Linked DNA regions of Homo sapiens: region 2 is linked to region 1. The links are contacts of gene promoters, found by promoter capture Hi-C in blood cells and fetal thymus (Javierre and others, 2016). All regions are on one chromosome and are shown on one strand. Each heading gives the region's core, a stretch centred on a gene start or on the middle of the fragment in contact. The rest is flanking DNA. Distances are from core to core; before and after follow the strand shown. Region 1 holds the start of RHOG (ras homolog family member G). Region 2 overlaps ZNF195 (zinc finger protein 195).

Region 1 (6,873 bases), core at 3,326-5,825:
CCACCACGCCCAGCCATTCCCATTTTAAAATGAAACTAAGACTGAGAAGTTGGCTCTGTTATATGCTCTTACAGTATTCTGTACTTTTTTTTCTGGAGAAATGTTCTTGCTATGTTGCCCAGGCTGGTCTGAAACTCTTGGGCTCAAGCAATCTTCCTGCCTTATCCCCCTGAGGAACTAGAACTGGAGACAAACACCACCATGCCCAGCAGCACTCTACTTTTGTATGATTACCTGTTTAAGGTCTATCTCCCTTACCAGTTATATCAGGGCAGTTTTCTCTACTTCATGATTGGCATGTAACACTATGTCTGGCACCAAGAAGATTTTCAATAAATATACATTGAATATTTATGAATATGGGAGATCTCATATGACTAATCAAAGGCCATACTGTGTTACAACCATCCTAATCTGTCTCCAAAACCTGTCTGTGATCTCTATTCTACCCCACCAAGTGCTTTCATATTATCTCACTTCTAAATGTCCAGGTTCAATGTCCTTGTCTCTCAGCTGCTTGTAAGCATACATGCACACCACCTACCAAGAACTCACCTATTCAGGGAAAGCTAGTGAGAGAGTAGAAAAAAGAAACAGCCCATTTGGGATTGTGCCCTCTTCCTACCCTCTTCAAGTCAGCATTTCTCCTCCTTCAAGAAGCCTTTACGGACAGCTCCACCTGTCCACCTGCTTCCCTTTCCTCTGGCCCTTCCCATACCTGTGCCACAAAAGTGTTTCCAAGTTACCTGGAGTCTGATTGTTCTACACATATTAGTACTTTATTAAAGCAATTTAACATTATGGATGTTTAGTGAAGGCAAATGTGTGCTCAGGCCTGCCTCTGTCAGGCCCAGTGGGTGGACACAGAAATGAATCAGACGCAACCTCAAAGGACTTATAGTCAGTGGGGGAGACAGATATTAGGCACAGATGCAATTTACTAGAGCACAAAGCATGATGACCTAAATGGTATTAAAGAACTATGAGCAACATGCTATATGCATAAACCTTAATTATTATTCTGAAGAGTGTATCATAGAAGATGAGAGCTCAAAGGTATCATCTAGTTCAACCTCTGTTTTCCAGTGGAAGAGTTTGAGACAGAGAAGGGTGGGGCCTAGCCTAAAATCTCAATCTGTCTGTCTGAGCCAAGACAGACTTCAAGTTTGTTTGTGGTTTTTTTTTTTTTGTTTTTTGTTTTTTGAGATGGAGTCTCGCTCCGTCGCCAAGCTGAAGTGCAGTGGCGCGATTTCGGCTCACTGCAACCTCCGCCTCCTAGGTTCAAGTGATTCTCCTGCCTCAGCCTCCCGAGTAGCTGGGGTTACAGCCATGCACCATCACACCCAGCTAATTTTTGTATTTTTAGTAGAGACGGGGTTTCACCATGTTGGCCAGGATAGTCTCGATCTTCTGACCCCATGATCCGCCTGCCTCAGCCTCCCAAAGTGCTAAGATTACAGGCGTGAGCCATTGTGCCAGGCCAGACTTGAAGGTTTTCTAAAGCCCAGCCTTGGACTTTTTCCTCCTCTTCTGATAGCTTCATATGCAAAGTCCTATACTTCATCAGACCATGAGATCTTTGAGGCTGGATCAGGTTCTCCCTCCTAAACCAGGGCTAGGCAAGCCCAAGACACTTACAGGCTCAGGAAATGCAATCTGATCCCAGGCTGCCAATCCAGTCTTTCAATCTGCAGCACCTAATGTGCTCCCTACTCTTATCACTATGTCCTTAAATTGATTTTCAAATATTTTTTGCAGGAAACTTAAAAACAAAATTAAACTCTCTATGCAGAATACTAGTAAATAAATCAGATAAAAAGCAAACCTTCTCTGGTTGAAGGGGAGAGAGTCCATAGCTCCACTGTTTTTCCTGTTCTTAAGTCCTGGGAAGGGAATTCTAGGAACACATATCAGAAACATTTCTTCTGGAGCTGGATGTGGTGGTGTGTGCCTGTAGTCCTAGCTACTTGAAAGGCTGAGGTGGGAGGATGACTCGAGCCCAGGAGTTCCAGGACAGCCTAGGCAACATAGTGAGAGTCCCATCTAAAAAAAAACAACAAACAAACCAGAAAAAACTTTTGTGCTGGGACATAATCTTTAATGGCGTCATAGAAGCTGCTTTAGCGTATGGTGTTCCTCTGAACCCTGTCATTTCTGGGGCTCACAATCCTTTCTTTATTCATGAAATACCAAGCACCCCAATGTCAAGTGGTCCCAATGGTGTATGGATGGGAATGAGAATTTCCCCTTGTGCCTCCTGCTCTCATGTCCTCCACAAAGAGGAGTTTGTCTGAAGGGCTACAGGGACCAGACCGAAGAGGAGACAAGAGACCCAAACACTGCCTGGCAGGTCAGGGGAGGCTTCTAGAGAAGGATCTTTGAGAAAGACTTCATCCACACAGTCATTCACCAGCCTGAATCTGATAAAGCCTCTGTTTTTGAGGATGATACAGTAGCCACCAGCTACACATGCTATTGACCACTTGAAATGTTTCCAGCCAAATTGAGACAAATTGTAAGTATAAAATACACACCGCATTTCAAAGACTTGGTACAAGAAAAGAATGCAAAATATCCAGTTAATTTTTATAACCAGTAATTTTTATGTTGATTACCATGCTAAAAGATAATATTTTGAGGCCGGGCGCAGTGGCTCATGCCTGTAATCCCAGCACTTTGGGAGGTTGAGGCGGGCAGATCACGAGGTGAGGAGTTCAAGACCAGCCTGGCCAACATGGTGAAATCCTATCTCCATTAAAAATACAAATATAAGCCAGGCATGGTGGCACGTGCCTGTAATCCCAGCTACTTGGGAGACTGAGGCAGGAGAATCATTTGAACCCAGGAGGCGGAGGTTGCAGTGAGCAGAGACCGCGCCACTGCAGTCCAGCCTGGTGACAGAGCGAGACTCCATCTCCAAAAAAAAAAAAAAAAAAAAAAAAAAGATAATACTTTGGCTATGGCTAAGTCAAATATAGTTAAAATTCATTTCGTTTCTTTTTACTTTTTTTGAAATGTCATTAATAGACAGTTTTAAATTACTTACGTGGTTCCTATTTATTTTTTTAAAAATATAAGTAGGCTGGGTGTGGTGGCTGACGCCTGTAATCTCAGCACTTTGGGAGGCCAAGGCAGGTGGATCAACTGAGATCAGTAGTTCGAGACCAGCGTGGCCAACAGGGTGAAACCCCGTCCCTACTAGAAATACGAAAATTAGCCGGGTGTGGTGACATGCACCTGTAACCCCAGCTACTCGAGAGACTGAGGCAGGATAACTGCATGAACCTGGGAGGCAGAGATTGCAGTGAGCCGAGATCGTGCCACTGCACCCCAGCCTGGGTGACATCGTGAGACTGTCAAAAAATATGTGTGTGTTTGTGTTTATAGAGACAAGGTTTCACCATCTCTGTAATTACAGGCAGACGCCACCGCGCCAGACTCTTAGGGTATGATATTTTTAAAAGATATTTGTTTAGTGTTTGAGATACGCATTGACAACAGGTCTTTTACACCCATTCTCATGTTATCTTCAAAACTACGGGGTGAAATATAATTATTCTATTTTACCAAAGACAGATTTGAGGCTCAGAAAGGTTAAGCTATTTATTCCTGGAATCAATCCGTTTATTTGAAAAGCTTCTGGAAGACAGGGATCCTGTCTTAAACGCTGTGTTTCTTCACAGCACCTAGCACTTAGCTCTCTCCACGTGGTAGGCGCTCAGAAACTTTGTGCTGAACGAAGGATATGGATTCTCAAGTCAAAGCTCCGAGCGCAAAGCCAGGGAGCGAAGCACCAGAGGGCGCCCATGAGCCCGCCCACCCGCGGGTCGCCGGGGCCCAAGCTGGACCTCAGGCCTGGGTGCGGCTCTTCAGCCCCAAGCAGCTGCGCGCCCCAGCAGAACAGGGGGCGAGGGGGCGAGGGAAGCCCCAAGTCCTCCGTCCGCCCCGCCCCCTCCCCAGAGCCAGGCCTCGCAGGGCTGCACGGTGCTGAATGACGACTCGACATCCTGTTTTTGGGGCCCGCGGCTCCGCCTGCGCCTCTGCTGATCTTGTCTTTCCCTTGGGTGCTGACGCCAGCTCCTCTTCCCCCCGAGTCTCCCCACCCTCCCCAGGGGTCTGGGGCCTTCCCACTGCTGAATCACCACCACCTCGCACTCCCCCGGGGCTCAGGGCAGGGGCGGGGACTGCCCCAGCCTCGGCCACCACTCTATCCCTGGGGTTGACTGAAGGGACCAGGCCCAGGGGCGCCTTTCTCAGCATCTTCCCGCGGAGGCTGGTGGGGGCGGGATGGGGGGAAGAGGACGAACGCCTAGCGCCCAGGGTAGGGCCTCCAGGGGTAGGGTGGCCAGGAGGAGGCGGAGAGACTTGACCTTGGGAGGCCTGACTTACTGACCGCAGGGGCAGCGGACTGGGAGGGGAACGTGGCAAGCCCGGGACTGGGCCGGGGGCGAGGCTGGGGGCGGGCCGGGGCTGGAGAGGGGGAGATCGGCCCTCGGACTTCCTGGTCGGGCCCCGCCCCGGCCCGCCCCGCCTCGCCGGCCCGCCCCCCCCACTTCCTCCGGCCTCCCGCTCTCACTTCCTTCTCGAGCCCGGAGCCGCTGCCGCCGCCCCCAGCTCCCCCGCCTCGGGGAGGGCACCAGGTGAGGCCCGGCCGGGGCTGGCGGGTAGGGGTCCGGGGGAGGAGAGCCCGGCCGGCCCAGGACTCGGCGCGGGCGCCGGCTCATGAGTTTGCTGGCGGAGGCCGCGGGCGGGAGCTTCTCGGTTCAGTCCAAGTAGGGCGGGCGCGGCCGGCCGGGCGGGGCGGGAACGGGGCCACTGCGAGCCGGCGGAGGCTCGGCGAGGGTGGCTTCCCGGCGGCTGTACCGCCTCTAGGGAGCCGAGAGGGACCCCTGAGGTCGGAGGGTCCCGGGCTCCAAGATAAGTGTCTCTGAAGTGGAAGAGCTCAGAGCTGGGAGATCGGACGCAGGTGGGGTGTCCTCAGAAGTTGGTGGGGGGGGTGTTGAGAAGTGCGTGAGGGGAGAGGGCTTCTGGGCTGGAAAAGGCGCTCCCTCTGCTCTGGCAGTTGTGACACTTGGGGTGAGAGGGGCGGTGTCTGGGGCCTCCGAAAGCTCTCTCCCTGTCAGATGGATGCTAATACAGACCCACACTCGGTCTGCAGCCCCAAGGCCCTCTGCACTCAGGAGGACCCGGGTTGGGTGGGGGAGCCCCGCCGACCCCAGTCGTTGTCTGTATGTCTGTTTTCCTGAGTCCCGACCTTACCTGGAGCCAAGCAGTAGGTATTTAGTGAGCAGACGCTGTTCCTAGCTGACCAGAGCCTGGCCTTGCTCTTTTGGGAGTAACTTGGTCTTGCCCTGTAACTGGAAGTGGAAGGACTCTCATTCAGAGGTACTGATAGTCCCTGACAAGTTTTTGTTGTGTCTTTTGGGGACAATTGAGAACCATCTCCTAGTGTTCCTCTTCATTCTTAGTCCCTGAATTATACACATGCTCCTGTCGTCTCCCTCCACACCTTCTTTAGTTTCTACCCACAAATCCGCCATCACTCTCTTCTCATCCCTTCCAGTCTCTTTTCCTCCAAACATACGGTCATACCTAGGCCTTGACCTGTCTTCACCTACCCTGCCCCATGTTCGTCTTGGTCCTCTGCAACCTGCCCCATCCCTTCCCTTCCCAGCTCTGGCACCCACACACATGCACCTCCTGGTTTCTTCCATCACCCCTCATTCCTTTTGAACCCTCAGCCTGTCACCCTCTCTGTATCCTTCCCTCCCACCCACTTATCTCCAGCTTTGGAATCAGTTGTTGAAGACTTAGTGAGTTCTAGAGTCTTTTCAAACCTCCCTAGCTTGGAGAGGCAGTCTGCAGCCTCCCAGTGATAGAGACGGATTAAAGAGCTGGAAAGCCTGTGTGTGTGTGTGTGTGTGTGTGTGTTTGCGTGTGTGTTCGCACGCGCGTGTCTGTGTATCTACATCTTCATCTCTTAGAGATGGATTAAAGAGATGGAAAGCCTGTGTGTGTGTGTGTGTGTGTGTGTGTGTGTGTGTGTGTTCGCGCGCGCGTGTCTGTGTGACTACATCTTTATCTCTTACAGACAAAATAACTGCCCTCAGCCTTGAGAGGGCCCAGAGCAAGGGAAGCCAGCAGAATGAAGGGAACCTGCAGTGAGTGAGGTTGTGGTTAGGCAGGAGGAAGCCGTTTGTAGCAGTCAGGGTAGGGTGACACAGGAATAAGACTTGTAAGAGAGGCCGTGGGAAATCAAAATCACCCCAACCCGTGGTGCTTGACCAAGAGGCCAGGCCTAGAAGCCGGAAGACAGCCTGAAGGTCCCTGACTCCATTACCTACTAGTTCCAGCATCACCTGGTGGAAAGAATGGGACCAGCTTGGGTGTGATGGAAATAAAGGGAGGAGGCAAATGCAGGATTCTGGAGGAAAGACTGCAGCTGGTCTAACTTCGGACTTAAGAAGCGGCGGAGGCAAAAGTGTCTGCTCCTTTCCTGCTACCTTCTGGGGCCTGCCTAGGCTGGGTACCCGCATGCCCTGATCTGCATCAGGGCCTTAGTGACCAGGAAGCCCTCTGGAGTTCTACTGACCCCTCTGCCTTCAGGCATCCTTAATACTCCCCATCTCACCTAGGACCCTATTCCTTCTCAGGAATTCCTCCCAAATTTAACTTCAGTCCATCCTGGCTATGGAGGCTCTTGTTTCCACTCTAGAGCTCCATCCTCAAGCTTTTGGGGTGCATCTGAGGATCTTGCTCCTGTCTACCTCCTCTAGTCATCTGTATTCATTTCTCTCCACTAGAAAAAAAGAGAAGTAGAGGGGAGTAAGTGCTACAGCTAAATTTAAGGGCTCTCCCTGTTCCCCATTCTGT
Region 2 (6,381 bases), core at 1,531-4,030, 470 kb after region 1:
CATGTGATCCGCCTGCCTTGGCCTCCCAAAGTGCTGGGATTACAGTCGTGAGCCACTGCGCCCAGCCTGGACGGCACTTTTTAAGAGATTTGTTTTCTGTTTGTAATCATTCCACGTGACAGGAAAGCAGAGAATCATCCCCTGACGCTATTGTAAAAAGTCTTTGTGCCTCTCCTCCTTTTTATTTTCCCTAGGCACAGACACCTTACCAGAATGTCTTTGGTTTGAGGTTCCACTTTGGAAACTTGACAGGGTGATTTGCTCTCAGCCACCCTCTGGACTTTTTCCTCAGTTTCAGTATTGTCCAGGGATAACACAGGATGCCCACCATGGCCATGTCTGCTGGAGCATCTAGTGAATTTCAGGCCCTGGGTTATTTCTCAGAGGACAGCCTGAGGTATGAAGTGTGGCCTCTCCAGGGAGCAGCTGGATGCCCTGGGCTGAGAGAAATCTCCTGGTCTACTCTTCCTCTAAAGAGGTAACCACTTAGGACATTAAGATTGTCTTCACCCAACCCAACTTTCAATCCCTGGAGACACATGGCTGATCAGCCAATCACATGCCCCTGTCAGAGGGAAAAGACCGAAATCATTTCTGCCCTTTGGACTCTCAGATTTGTGAAGGGAGACAGAATGTTTCAAAGAGCAAGAAAAACTCCACCCCGTGAGATGGTGCAAAACCTGTAAAGCAAAATTCACCTGGGACACTCAGCGGGGCACAGTGCAGTGTATCATCGGGGGTGGCCGGTGAGCACTTCGGTGAACAGGATGGAGGTGGGAGAATCTCCCAAGGAATAGAATAGCCTGACTTGACACAAGTCATTAGCTGTGTCTGTGTTCCAGTCGGCACTGCCACTCTCTGTGTCTCCTTGAAATAATTTATTCACTTACTGCAATGTTGGATTTTTAATTGTAAATTTACATTTTATCAGTAGAGCTTGAAAGGTAAGAAAATACTTACAAAGGACATGAAATAGGTCAATTTCAGGAAAAAAGTTAAATATCTAGTCATACATACCTTTTTCTTCTCCAGAGTGATTAAGGGTAGAAAGTTACTTAGGTCTGTTCTTTTGTGGAAGATGATTTCCAACAGAATCCCAGGGCTTAGCTTTGGGAATGCTACCAGGGAACATAAAATGCTTCTTGGATGGCTGTGGAGAATGTTTACATTTTCTACAAAAAAATTATGGTAGATTACTTGGTAAATTGCATAGATTCATCAGAACATGAGCTCTTTTTGCAGGATGAATTTGTTGTCATGAGTATCTCTGTTTTATATCCTGTTCTCTAGATGTCTGAGCTTAATGCTAAGTTGTAGGAGATGGAACTTAGCACTTCTAAAAGTGTTCACATGTGATTGTTTACTATATGATTTGTTATGGAAATAGTTAAATGACAAGTTCATTGTCTGAAAGCAATAAATAATTTTGCTTTTTCTGTGGAGGTGAAAGTGTAAGTGCTTACAGTTTCCTTTTCTTCTGTAAACTGTTTCAGTGATTTTGTTGGATGTTTCCAACACTGGGTATTTTCTTATTTAAACCTAAGTGGATAACCCTGATTGGGAAGTTGAAGCCCAAGAACAGTCATTCCAAGCTAAGGCTAATACTGAGTCTGCAAAAGAAAGCAATCGAAGGCCTGGCTCAAGCTTGTCCAACCCACAGGCCTGGGCCACATGCTGGCCTGGGCTTTGAATGTGGTCCAACACAAATTCGTAAACTTTATTAAAACATTATGAGACTTTTTTGTGATTTTTTTTTTTTTTCAGTTATCAGCTATCGTTAGTGTTAGTGTATTTTATGTGTGGCCCAGGGAAGCCAAGATCGGACACCCCTGGCCTAGCTAGTGCTTCCCAAGGAGCCTCCCCTGCGGGTGCGCCAGACTGCTCACAGCAACCATGGAAGGAGCCTTTCTACAGAGAGAAGCTGCAGAGCCCGGGAGCACTGGGGACCCACAGGCAGATGCAGTTAGAGTTGGGATGGAAGGAAGCTGGGGAGGACTTCCTGGGTATGGAATCGTTATTATCCTGGGGCTGTTTCTAGACTTCGTCAAATAAAATAAATTTAGCTTTAGATAGGAAGTTATTGAACTCTAAAGGAGGATTGCAACAGGGAGAAGGTAGCAACTATCATGGATCTCATGGCCATAGAGGGCATCTGTGCAGGGTCACCAGGAACTCTCTCACCAGCACCTGGAGTCTTTTGGACATTCAGGAGTGCACTGTGCAGACGGGGCTCAGGCTGACAAAACGGTCTATCTGTGCTTCTGTTGTAGAATAAGAGAAATGAGTCACCCAGGGTTTGTTCCTCCCCTCAGAGAAGAAACCTCATTGGTATCCACATGGGAATTACTCCAGTTTTTCTGGTACTTCAGTAAAAAACAAAAATGAGATCTGGAGATTCAAACTGATAAACTAATTGATTCCATCCTGTGTAGCCATTAGGAAAACAGAGAAGGCAGCCATGGTCCCCGCAAGCCAGAAACTTTTCCATTTCCAGTAACTGGATAAATCATTGAATTCAGCGTCTTGGGGTCAGCATGAAGAAGGGAGTGGTCAAAGGGACTTCTGCTTCATTTGGGCCATTTTCCTGATGTGGTTGTTGTGAGTTCTGATGTCATATTGAAGGGATATTCAGACAGACAAGGTGGTGGTGGTATTATTTCTGTTGCTTTTGCCCGGCTAAAAATAAATATTTAGCTTCTACCATATCTGTCCTAGAAAATCCTAAAGGTTTCGGTTAAATTGCTTGTTATTTTATGTTATAAAATAGACAAGGAAGTGGCCAAAATAGATTAAAATTATACAAACCCTGGGATTTAAATTTTGGGGTGGGGGGCAGTTTTAGGAAAAACAGAATTGTAAATACTCTAGTAGCATAGAGAGCAGAATCCTGCGTAGGGCCCTCTCCCTGCCCAGACATGCCCAGACTCTCCTTCTCTGAGTCTCATCCAGGTCTGGCTTCACCCTGGACTCTCCTCCGACAGAGTTAACTACAGAATTAAATCAGAGTTTTGGGTTTAGCTACAGAGTTAAATCAGTTTGGAGTTTAACTACAGAGTTAAATCAGAGTTTGACTCCTGCTGCCTCTCCGGAACTGATACACAGAATTTTCGGAAACCCCAAAGCAGATAAATGGGATCAAAGGACTCTCTATTTTGGAGCCTTAATTTTTCTTTTTTACTAACACCAGCGCTGTTAGAGACATCGTATCCAGCAAGCTCTTTCTCAGTCCTGTGGGTCTAATAGTTGCTTCACAAGCCACAAGAAAGTGAAGATAAACACAACAATGGAAAGTGCCTTTGCACTACACTTCATCCCCTCTGTATCCCTTCCATTGGTCTATCTGGAGCTTTTATCACTACACTTTTAAAACGTTAATGATAGGAAAATAGAAGAGGAACCACAAAGCCTGGTCCCTTCATCTATATCTTGAGAGTTGCAGGACACTTGGTTCCATCACCCAGGGTGTGGTGAGGATTAACTCACATGACGTGAGGTGCCCAGCACAGTGCTGTCACATACATCCGAGCACCCCGTGCCTGCTTAATAAACACTGCATTCATACGTGTGTACACATTGTTTTCCAAATGCAGACAGACTCAGACATTGCTTCCTTCTCCAGCCCTGGAAAACTTTAAAGAGCCAGGAAATAATGTAATCTTTCAGAATAGAGATTGGCTGTCTCCATTTGCACCAGAAGAACTTATGTTGTGGTCAGAGGGTTGGGTGTAAGGGACTGTGCTGGGGCTGCTTTCTTTAGCTGAGTGTTAATGATCACAAGTCTTGGGGGAGCAGCATCACCATTAATGGCAGAACTGTTAAAAAATCCAACCCATGAACCCCTTTGAAATCTTCAGAATCACATGACTTAGAGTGGGGCCAAAATTACCAAAAGATTCATATGCACATTGAAGCTTGAGAAGCAAGGCTTAGCTAAATGGTTCTCAGCCTGGCTTCTAATTAAATCACATGGACAACTCAAAAAAAGGCCCTCACCTTTGCCCTCACAGATTCTGCCTATTGGTTTGGGTGGAAGCACCAGTGCTGTTTAAGTCACATGCATCATGGGATTCTAAGGTGTGGCCAGAATCAGTGATGGGGGGTTTCAGATGCATTTGTACGAGTTGAGCTCAGCCTTGGTTCCAAAGGGAGGTCACAGGGCCTTCTTTGCCTAGGTTTCAGAGGCCAGCTCAGTGCAGCTTATACTCCAATTGCTGAAGCAGAATTGCTGTTGTTTAGCAGGAGAGGGAACCTGAGAGCAGGAAGAGAGAAAGTCACATTTTGATCTCCATGTAGAAGTTTACTGTTCCTGAATCTCTTTTATAAAGAACAGAAAAGCGTGGACTTTTTCTGTATTTCTTGGTCTTTCTGTTGATGGTTGTGGTGGTAGCAGGTGAAGGGGTTGTGCTAACACCTTTAAAGGCATATTCTCACGATGCAGGTGTGATTTGTCCAGAGAATCTTTCCTAAGAGGAAATCCCAGAGAAGCAGGAGAAAGAGAAAGAAATGGCTGGTGCTCAGGTAAATGCATCTCAGGTCAGGGGTTGTGTCCACTTTTGCTCCTGAAATGTCATGTGTTTAGAATTTGGAAACCTTTACTTCTCTACTTGTGGTGTTTCTCCATAGTAAGTTTGTTTCAACTACTTTTTTTTCTTATAATAATGAAGGGTCTCTGAAAATATTTGTTTTCTATATACCAAAGCCGTCTCTCTGTTATCTTCACCTTGACTTCTTATATGCCATGAAGAATTCTTACCATGACTTTATGACCTGCAGTATTAAAAAGTTCACTTCGTGGCACTGAACTTGTGGATACCCAGGATTCCTCTTGAGGATGGGGTGGGTTTTTGGATATCAGCAAAGAAGGGAAATGTGCACTCTTTAGGTTTCATCTGGATGCTCCATAAGCTGCATGCAGAACAGGACTAAGAAAATAAACATTTAAACCAGATGACATTTATCTCTCAGAATAACTCAAAGCATTCTGGAAAAGAGAAAAATGAAAAGACACTTGCTTTTTAGAATGCTAAAGAAAGACTCTTTTAATACACTATTAGAGATTACTGCTGGGCATGGTGGCTCATGCCTATAATCCCAACACTTTGGGAGGCCTAGGTGGGCAGATCGCTTGGGGCCAGGAGTTCGAGACCAGCCTGACCAACATGGTGAAACCCCATCTCTACTAAAAAAATACAAAAATTATCCAAGCGTGGTGGCACATGTGGGTAGTTCCATCTACTCCGGAGGCTGAGGGACGAGAATTGCCTGAACCAGGGAGGCAGAGGTAGCAGTGAGCCGAGATCGCGCCACTGCACTCCAGCCTGGGCTACAGAGTGAGACTCAGTCTCAAGACAAAAGAAAACAGATTACAGAACCTGGGAGATATTTGTCAGAACCTGGGAGATATTTGTCAGAACATAGGAGATATTTATTTGTCAGAACCTGGGAGATATTTATTTGTCAGAACCTGGGAGATATTTGTCAGGACCTGGGAAATATTTGTCAGAACCTGGGAGATATTTGTCAGAACCTGGGAGATATTTATTTGTCTCTTGAACTTTGCATAACACTAAGGTTTCGGTATGATTTGATTCAGATTATAATTGACCTTTTGGCCAATATCACACCAGTAATATGTCCTTCTCTGTGCATTGGCACGTGATAAAAATCTGTCCTATTACAGTTGATATTAGTTTTATTCAGTTGTTTAAAGAGCTCCCTGACAGATTTTCCATTGTGGAGTTTATTTTTTTCTCTTTTAAGTACCTTGAGGAGATTTACTAATTAATGTGCATAAATAATCACATTTAATCTGAAAGGTTTTGCTTCTTAGATTCTTTTTGCATATGCCTTGCTTTAGAAGATGAAGAATCTCATCTCTCTTTATGGTTTAGAAAAACTGGGATAAACCCAAGCTTGCCACTTACAGGATTTTTGACAAAATATTGTCCTTGGGCCCAAAGGACTGGCATCACTGGTGAGCGCGTTAGAAATTCGGAAACTCAGCCTTGACCTCCGATTTCCTGAAGCAAAATCTGCACACTAGTTTATTGGACACATGAAAATTGGAGAGGCAGCTTCTAACTCACCATGACTTTTCTGCCTGCGAAATATACACAGCTTATTCATGTGACGTAAATGTAGCACTCAAAAATGGACATGCCTTTGTTGATGCCCTTAATGTTATACTTGTTATCAACCAGAAAAGTATTGTATATACACTGCTTATGTGGCTCTCAGGCAATTCTCTTTCCTCAGAGTTAGAGAGTATTCTTCTGCTAAGAATTACCTTATTGTATAATTTCAGTCACTTGTGTAAGTCAGAACCAGTTCTCTTCACTCGCTCATTTCACCTCGAATCAAGTATTTGTTATTGTTGTTGTT

Evidence for each region. The method cuts DNA at HindIII sites, captures the fragments that hold promoters and counts their contacts. A CHiCAGO score of 5 or more calls a contact.
Region 2: a contact is called between a fragment that was not itself captured here and the fragment with the promoter of RHOG in region 1, in 1 of 17 cell types (fetal thymus). The highest score is 5.4, in fetal thymus.

Annotation. Positions count from the first base shown.
Region 1 is chr11:3,838,661-3,845,533 of GRCh38, reverse strand. RHOG (ras homolog family member G) reads left to right here and starts at 4,575. Exons shown (of 2, transcript NM_001665.4): 1 at 4,575-4,640. RefSeq lists silencers at 3,635-3,684, 3,725-3,994, 4,345-4,394, 4,445-4,834 and an enhancer at 6,235-6,434. The HindIII fragment of the contact is 3,094 bases long and covers 3,639-6,732 here.
Region 2 is chr11:3,371,714-3,378,094 of GRCh38, reverse strand. All of the region lies in intron 1 of ZNF195 (zinc finger protein 195), which reads left to right. Among named protein-coding and RNA genes, the nearest start is that of ZNF195, 4.2 kb to the left of the region's middle. The HindIII fragment of the contact is 2,267 bases long and covers 1,647-3,913 here.